Linked DNA regions of Homo sapiens: regions 1 and 3 are each linked to region 2. Evidence: promoter capture Hi-C in 16 types of primary human blood cells and fetal thymus (Javierre and others, 2016). All regions are on one chromosome and are shown on one strand. The core of a region is centred on a gene start or on the middle of the fragment in contact, and the rest is flanking DNA. Distances in the headings are between cores, read along the strand shown.

Region 1 (2,867 bases), core at 52-2,551, 140 kb before region 2:
TTAAATTATTTTCAAAGAACCTGCAATGAATTGAATGCTTGTGTCCTTGACAAAATTCGTATATTGAAATCCTAACTCCCAATGTGATGGTATTAGGAGGAGGTGCCTTTGGGAGGTGATTAGGTCATGAGGATGGAGCCCTAATCACTGGAATTTGGGACCCCAGAGAGCTCTCTTGCCCTCTTTCACCATGTGAGGATACAACAAGAAGTTGGCAGTATGCGACTGAGAATGGGGCCCTCACAAGGATCAGACGATGCTGGCACCCTGATCTCTCAATTCCAGCCTCCAGAACGGTGAGAAATCAATGTCCATTGTTTATAAGCCACTCTGTATGTGGTGCTTTCTTATAGAAACCCCAACTATGACAAACTCTTAAGAACCCGTTATTTCAATAAGAACAAGAGTTTGTAAAGAGCTTATTTTGGTAGATACCTAGTTAGTCCTTCTCAAGAAGATTCATTTTTTTTTTTTGCCCTTGATCCAAAGAGTTTGGGGAAATTCAACCATCAAAACTACTAAGCTTGGCCAGACACAGTGGTTCGTGTCTCTAATCCCAGCACTTTGGGAGGCTAAGGCGGGTGGATCACCTGAGGTCAGAAGTTCAAGACCAGCCTGGCTAACACGGAGAAATCCTGTCTTCATGAAAATACAAAAATTAGCTGGGTGCAGTGCCATGTATCTGTAATCCCAGCTATTTGGGAGGCCGAGGCAGGAGAATCGCTTGAACCCAGGAGGCAGAGGCTGCAGTGAGCTGAGAGTGCACCACTGCACTCCAGCCTGGGTGACAGAGTAAGACTCTGTCTCAAAAAAAAAAAAAAAAAAAGAAAAAAAGAAAAAACTACTAAGCTTTCCAAGCACATGTTATCACATGGGGTGTCTGTAATAAAGCAAGCAAATATAAAACTCATATGAGCTCAGAAACTCCAACACAAAACAACAACAAAAGGAATTAAAGAACAAAGCCTAAAAACATGTAACCTGGCAATCTGACATTCCCTATACATGTCGACTGGTTAAGTATACTTATGTTCTTAACCATATAGTTTGGTGGTTATAATTTACTGCAGATGTCAACTAACATTTATGTACTGAAAGGTAAAATTACAAAAACGTGCCTGAGAATAACAACATTGGGATAGTGGTTACTTCTCTGGATGGAAAGAGAATTGGTGTGGCATTAACTGCAACGGTAAATTTTTTTATTAAAAAAATATATAAAGTACACAAAAAGTATTAAACTCTCTAAGGGAGTTCTCCCCTCTCCTTAAGAGCCTCTGGGACTCTGGAGCTTCTTGTTTCATTTAGCCCTGTTTTCCAGTGACTTTCCATTTTCTGATCCCTAACCCTCACAATGGCACTTAGATAAGGACGAGCAGGCATCCAGTGGGGTTTATAAAGCAGTACAGCATAACTGTTAAGAGCATGAGTCTGGTGTCAGACAGCCAGGTTTATATCCCAGCCTCACCACTCACTGGCTGTGAGACTTAAGCAAATTACTTAACTGAGACAGCAAGAACAACATCTGGTTTAATCTGAAATCAGAATCAGAGCAAACTAAGAGAAGGAGCTGGGTATGAAACAAAAAGAAAAGTAATAATCTTTTCTCATACAAAAGGAAAAACATTTTATTGGTTTGATCTGAAAATAAAAAGAAGTCCCAGAAAATCTAAAAAGTGTAAAGAAATTAATGATCACCCATAATCCTAAAAATAATTACTATTATCATTTTGACATATGTCAAGCAAGCTTGCTAAGAAAATCCTAACAGATTACAGTAATTCTTTCTAATTCCACAAGGGAAAAAGAATATATTAAAAACAACATCATTAATAGCCATTTATAAACATATGCATATTATTATGCATTTATGCATGCATGTGTTAGAACACGTAGAAAAATCATCTAGAGAAGGCAGACATACCCAAGACCATGGAGCTAAGCATGATCTTTTTTCGTCTGTTTGTTTGAGACAGGGCCTCACTCTGTCACCCAGGCTTGAGTTCAGTGGTGCAATCATGGCTCACTACAGCCTCAACCTCCCGGGCTCATGTGATCTTCCCACCTCAGCCTCCCAAGTAGCTGAAACTACAGGGGCGTGCTATCACACCTGGCTAATTTTTGTATTTTTTGTAGAGACAGGGTCTTGCTATGTTGCCCAGGCTGGTCTCAAATTTCTGAGCTCAAGCAATCTTCCCACCTCGGCCTCCCAAAGTGCTAGGATTACAAGCATGAGCCACCACACCCAGCCAGTTTGGACATTTTTTAAAAGCTGTTTTTTACAAGCTGTAAAAAACAACAAAGTTATGTGACAGAGACTCATAAAGCTAAAAATATTTACCATCTGGTCCTTTATAGAAAATGTTTGCTCAATACAGAGAAGAGACATAAAACACCTGGGGAGAGGCATATAACTGGAAGTTTAATTTTCTACATAATAGTCTTCAGAATTATTTTTTCCTTTTTGTTTTAAAAAAAGTAGTCATTACTTTTTAAAATATGACTAATTTTGATTTTTAATTTTTAAAAATCCATAAAAAGAAAGCCATTCTGAAAAGTAAAAACTGAACCAAGGGTATACTGGAACCAGTGACCCCTGGACTAAAGTCTCTTTCTATGTAGGCGAGGAAGCCTCTCTAACACCCAATAAGAGAAATGCCAAAAGACTCTCAGCCTTGTTTTAGATGCCACATTTCCTCCTGCCACCAATATAGACAGCATCTCCTATATGCAAATGCCTTTCGTCCCTCCGCTTCAATACTGATGTTCATGTTTGGTGGTGGAGGCTGGAGGGGTGACAGGGCACAGGGGCAGGAGGGTACCTGGAGATCGTCTGTGAATTTTGAGTTAAATACATAACATTTGAG
Region 2 (2,700 bases), core at 162-2,661:
TTTGTCTCTACTAGAGAGGAGAAAGAACTGGAATTGGAAATAGAGGGAGATTTAAGGGTAGTGAGAGAGGCTGGAGAAGACAGTGAAAAGACCGCTTACCCGATTTGAAATTGGTGAGATGTTCCTTGGGCTGTTTGGTCTGAGGACCCGAGGTCATAGGTGGATCTCCTCACAGAGTGAGGGTGAGGACAGGGGACTGGTCTCCTGAAGGAGTCCTCCTGTCCCGGGTCTTCGGCACCAAATGTCACACGTGTCCGTGTGAAGAGACCACCAAAAGGCTTTGCGTGAGCAATAAAGCTGTTTATTTCACCTGGGTGCAGGTGGGCCGAGTACGAAAAAAAGAGTCAGCAAAGGGAGTTAGGGGTGTGGTAGCTTTATAGGATTTGTGTGGGTAGTGGAAAATTACAGTCAAAGGGGGTTGTTCTCTGGTGGGCAAGGCGGGGGCCGGGGGGGTGGAAGGTCTACAAAGTGCTCAGTGGGGGAGCTTCTGAGCCAGGAGAAGGAATTTCACAAGGTAATGTCATCAGTTAAGGCAGGAACCAGCCATTTTCACTACCTTTGTGATTCCTCAGTTGCTTCAGGCCATCTGGATGTATACATGCAGGCTTGGGCTCAGAGGCCTGACACAAGTTGGCACATTTGATCCTATCAACTTTAGTTTGCACTTTCACTTTTGATTTAAGAACATACTTTCTGTTTCTCAGAGGGCAGCCTCTGATGGGAATTTTAATACTCACAAGCATCAGTGGCTATATGATTGAATGTACTTCTTCAGTGTGAGTAAGTGACAACTTTCTGTAGCATGATATCCCTTATGGACACGATCCCCATTCAAAACGTTTTAAAACTATTTTATTGGGGACATTTATTAGCATGTTAAAACTCTTTTACAACCTATTAGAGCATATGCATAGAACATAAAATGTACACTGCCAAGAACAAATTTAAGGATAGGAAGAAAAGCTTACATTTTTTAAAAAGTATAAATTGAAATGTATGCAGTGTAATTTAAATTTGATTACGTTAACCTCCATTTCATCAGGACCACGTGTCGCGTTTTAACAAGAGTTTCCCTATCATGTCCAGGCTTTGGCTCTGGTTGCAGGCGCTGGGTAGGCACTTTTACGAGGAGGGACCTGGCACGATGGCACCACAAATTCCCAAGTGTGTCACCTCTGGGCGAACTTGGGCCTGTCCACTCGGCCCTGCGCGGTGGCCAGGGGCTCACCCTCTCGCACCGGGCGTCCCTCTGCGCGCAGCTTCTCTCGCCCCCCCGCGCCAGACCCGGGCGAATGGCAGCACCGTGGGACCCTGCCTTGACCGCCCCCGCCCTTCGGCGGCCTCTCCCAGCAGCCGGCAGGCTCTTGGGCGCGCCAACAGAGGGGCGCGGCTGCGGCTGTAGTCGCAGCCAGTTCCCGTTCCGGGCCCGCGAGGCAGCCGCCCCGGTCCTGCCCCTCCCTCGCGCTACTGCGGGAGCAGCGTCCTCCCGGGCCACGGCGCTTCCCGGCCCCGGCGTCCCCGGACCATGGCGCTCTCCGGGCTCTTCTCTAGCTCTCAGCGGCTGCGAAGTCTGTAAACCTGGTGGCCAAGTAAGTCCCAGCGACTGGGGATTCGCGCGGGGCAGGCCCTTTCTGAGGTCCTGGGCGCTGCGAGTGAGGAGGCGCAGGGAGGCGGGATTTGCGTGCGGGCGGAACGCAGCGCGGCTCTGGAGGAGCTCTGGGTGGAACCAAGCGGAGAAACCCGCGAGTTTGAAGCATGTAGCGAAAGTTGAGAGGGATGAACTTCACAGTCAGCGGAATCGTTTATCCCACTGTGGTCGAACGCAGGGGTTCTCAATCGTGCCAGCAGCTTAGAACCACCTGGGGAGCTTTTAAAATCCAGATATCCAGGCTGCACCCTAGATCAATTCCATCAGAATCTCACGGAGTCAGACCCAGGCCTCCGTATCTTTTAAAAGCTCCCCAAGTGATTCCAGTGTGCAGCCAGCGTTCGAGGGTTTGTGGCAAAGGCTGGAAGGGCAGACAGGGGCCTTCATGGAGTCCCGCCTGCAGACGGGACAGCAGCTCCCAGTGTCCTGCTTGGTCCTGGAGAGAGGGTGAGAACTTCCCTTGGGTTTCATGCTCCACAAAGTAAGGAAATGAGACAATGCTTGGCAAGGTCGCCTGAATATCACATTCAAAAACGCCTCCAATGTGTGCAGTTGTTTTGGCACATTGTGAAAAACATAGGAAATGACAGAGGTTGATGTCTCATTAGCTCTGCATTCTAGGAAACATTTCGGTTGTTGGTGTTTGAAATTAAGTCTGGGGAAGCTAAGCTAGTAAACCCATGGCCTTGATGACTTCTGGCCTTTCTGCTTTAAGGGTGAAGCCAGGGCCGGGCGCGGTGGCTCACGCCTGTAATCCCAGCACTTTGGGAGGCCAAGGCAGGCGGATCACCTGAGGTCGAGAGTTCGAGACCAGCCTGGCCCAACATGGTGAAACCGTCTCTACTAAAAAAAAAAAAAAAAAAAATTAACCGGGCGTGGTGGCGCATGCCTGTAATCCCAGCTACTCGGGAGGCTGAAGCAGGAGAATTGCTTGAACCCGGGAGGCAGAGGTTGCAGTGAGCCGAGATCGCCCTGTTGCGCTCCAGCCTGGGCAACAAGAGCAAAACTCCGTCAAAAACAAACAAACAAACAAAAAACAAAAAAACGGTGAA
Region 3 (2,700 bases), core at 6-2,505, 140 kb after region 2:
CAGTTAAACTGTTATTCAAAAAACAAAAAGACACATAGATAAGCAGTCTGTGTTAAACATGCAAGAAATCTAGGTAATTATTTCCCATGAGCCCATGTGAAAGGATTTCTATGAGGATGAACTTCAGCTAGCCAAGAGACATCTGAAAAAACTAAAGCAAAAGGATTAGCAGTGGCAGCTGAATCTACGTAATGGTAAGATTAAAACAAAAGTGGGAACATTGATTAGATAATGTATAAAGTATCTACCTAGCAAAAATTAAAAGAGGTGAGGATGGATGGGGGGAAGATGATATAAATAACTAGGTGTCAAAAAGTATTATTTAAAGCTAACAAAGCAAAGAGAAGTACAAAAAAAACTTAATAGTATAAAAGCAAACATTAGGTAATGTAACAACTAAAATTAGAACACGGGAAGGAAGGAGAAAAATAGGAAATACACTAATTTCATTATTGCTCATAGAAAAAAACAGTATCTAAAAATAAGAGGTATTCTATAAAATTATAAAAGTAATCACTAAACACAGAAATACAGTTATAAGAAATACAATTAGAAACACCACAGTTATTTCTAATCAAAAGAAACAACACAGTTATTTCTAATTAAAAAAAAAAAAAGAAACAAGAGCTGGGGCCGGGCGCAGTGGCTCACGCCTGTAATCCCAGCACTCTGGGAGGCCAAGGCAGGCAGATCACCTGAGGTCAGGAGTTCGAGACCAGCCTCGCCAACATGCTGAAACCCCGTCTCTACTAAAAATACAAAAATTAGCTGGGTGTATGATGGCAGGCGCCTGTAATCCCAGCTATTCGGGAGGCTGAGGCAGGGGAATCGCTTGAACCTGGGAGGCAGAGGTTGCAGTGAGCCGAGATCGCGCCACTGCACTCCAGCCTGAGTGACAGAGCAAGACTCGGTCTATTAAAAAAAAAAAAAAAAAAAAAAAAGCTGGCCACCCAGTGAAACATTTTTAAAAAGTCATGAAACCAGAAAGTATAATGACAGAATTAGCACTGACCATATTAAGAAATATAAATGGGCTAAACCAACAAAAACAAACAAACAAAAAACAAAGATTAGATTGGATTGCAAACAAAATCTAACCCTGTACTGTGTATACAAAAAGCATATAAGAAACAAAAAATATTCAGGAAATGAAAATGAAAAAAAAAACTTATCAGGCAAATACAAACTAAAAGAAAGAATGAATTACAATCTTACTATTGACAAGGTTGAACATAAGGCATAAACATTAAAGGAGACAGAGGAGCTTTTATAATATTAAAAAATGCAATTTGCACCCAAGTTATAATAGTTATGTTTATACCCATATAACAGCAGCAACATTTGTAAAGGAAAAAAAATATGCAATATAGAGAAAAACAGAAACATGAGTAGTAGCACACCTTAATTCACCTTAGTCCATGACGATCAAGTGAATTTAAAAAAAGATGAATATTAAAGACCTTTTTTTGAAACAGGGTCTCTGTCATCTAGGATGAAGTGCAGTAGCATTAAATTTTATCTATGTCTTTTTGTTTTTTCAGAGACAGTCTTGCTCTGTCATCCAGGCTGAGGTGTAGTGGTGCGATTATAGCTCACTGCAGCCTCCAATTCCTGGGCTCAAGTGATCCTCCCACCTCAGCCTCCCCAGTAGCTGCGACTATTGGCATGCACCACCACGCTTGGTTGACTTTCCTATTTTTTAAATAGAGATACGGTCTCACTATGTTGCCCAGGCTGGTCGGGTCTTGAACTCCTGGGGTCTCAAGTGATCCTCCTGCTTTGTCCTCCCAAAGGACCTTTTAAATTACACATGAATAGGAAACATTCGCCAAAAGTGACCTTACATTAAACCACAAAGAAAACAGTAATAAATTTTGAAAATATAAAACTAGTACAGACAACATCCTCTGATCACAATGCGGCAAAACTAGGAAACAAATAGCAAAACCAGGGGGAAAAAAGTCCTCTACACTTGGATAAAGATACTCTCAAATAACTTTTGAGTTAAAAAAGACACCCCCAAAATACAAAGTACCTCATCTAAAAAAAACCACTACTTATCGGAACCTTTGAAACAGAGCTAAAACATCTTCAGAGAAAAATTCATAGGCTTGTATACTTCTGCTGAAAAACAAGAAAGAAAAATTAATACCCCCAACACAATAAACTCAGAAAACGCATACCTAAGGAAAGCACAATAAATAATATAAACAAAAGTCTAAATTAATGAATTAGAAAACAGAAAAATGATAGACTAACAATGGATCTCTCTGCAGAAACCCTACAAGCCAGAAGACAGTGGGGGCCAATATTCAACATTCTTAAAGAATTTCAACCCAGAATTTCGTATCCAGTCAAGCTACGCTTCACAAATGAAGGAGAAATAATATCCTTTACAGACAAGCAAATGCTGAGAGATTCTGTCATCACCACGCCTGTCTTACAAGAGCTCCTGAAGGAAGCACTAAATATGGAAAGGAAAAACCAGTACCAGCCACTACAAAAACATAACAAACTGTAATCACCATCAACACTATGAAGAAATTGCATCAACTAACAGGGAAAATAACCAGCTAGCATCATAACGACAGGATCAAACTCACGCATAACAATATTAATTTTAAATGTAAATGGGCTAAATGCCCCAATTAAAAGACACAGACTGGCAAATTGGATAAAGAGTCAAGACCCATCAGTGTA

Evidence for each region. Contacts are between HindIII fragments. The CHiCAGO score rates a contact against its expected background, and 5 or more counts as called.
Region 1: a fragment that was not itself captured here is called in contact with the fragment with the promoter of NOD1 in region 2 in 3 of 17 cell types (activated CD4 T cells, total CD4 T cells and naive CD4 T cells); the score reaches 6.1 in activated CD4 T cells.
Region 3: a fragment that was not itself captured here is called in contact with the fragment with the promoter of NOD1 in region 2 in 1 of 17 cell types (total B cells); the score reaches 5.2 in total B cells.

What each region holds. Positions count from the first base shown.
Region 1 is chr7:30,617,736-30,620,602 of GRCh38, reverse strand. The region is part of intron 10 of GARS1 (glycyl-tRNA synthetase 1); the gene reads right to left. Among named protein-coding and RNA genes, the nearest start is that of GARS1, 24 kb to the right of the region's middle. The HindIII fragment of the contact is 900 bases long and covers 852-1,751 here.
Region 2 is chr7:30,477,495-30,480,194 of GRCh38, reverse strand. NOD1 (nucleotide binding oligomerization domain containing 1) reads left to right here and starts at 1,411. Exons shown (of 14, transcript NM_006092.4): 1 at 1,411-1,589. RefSeq lists a silencer at 1,283-1,522 and an enhancer at 1,171-1,915. The HindIII fragment of the contact is 7,069 bases long and covers 966-2,700 here.
Region 3 is chr7:30,342,153-30,344,852 of GRCh38, reverse strand. All of the region lies in intron 2 of ZNRF2 (zinc and ring finger 2), which reads right to left. Among named protein-coding and RNA genes, the nearest start is that of LINC01176, 47 kb to the left of the region's middle. The HindIII fragment of the contact is 5,981 bases long and covers 1-2,700 here.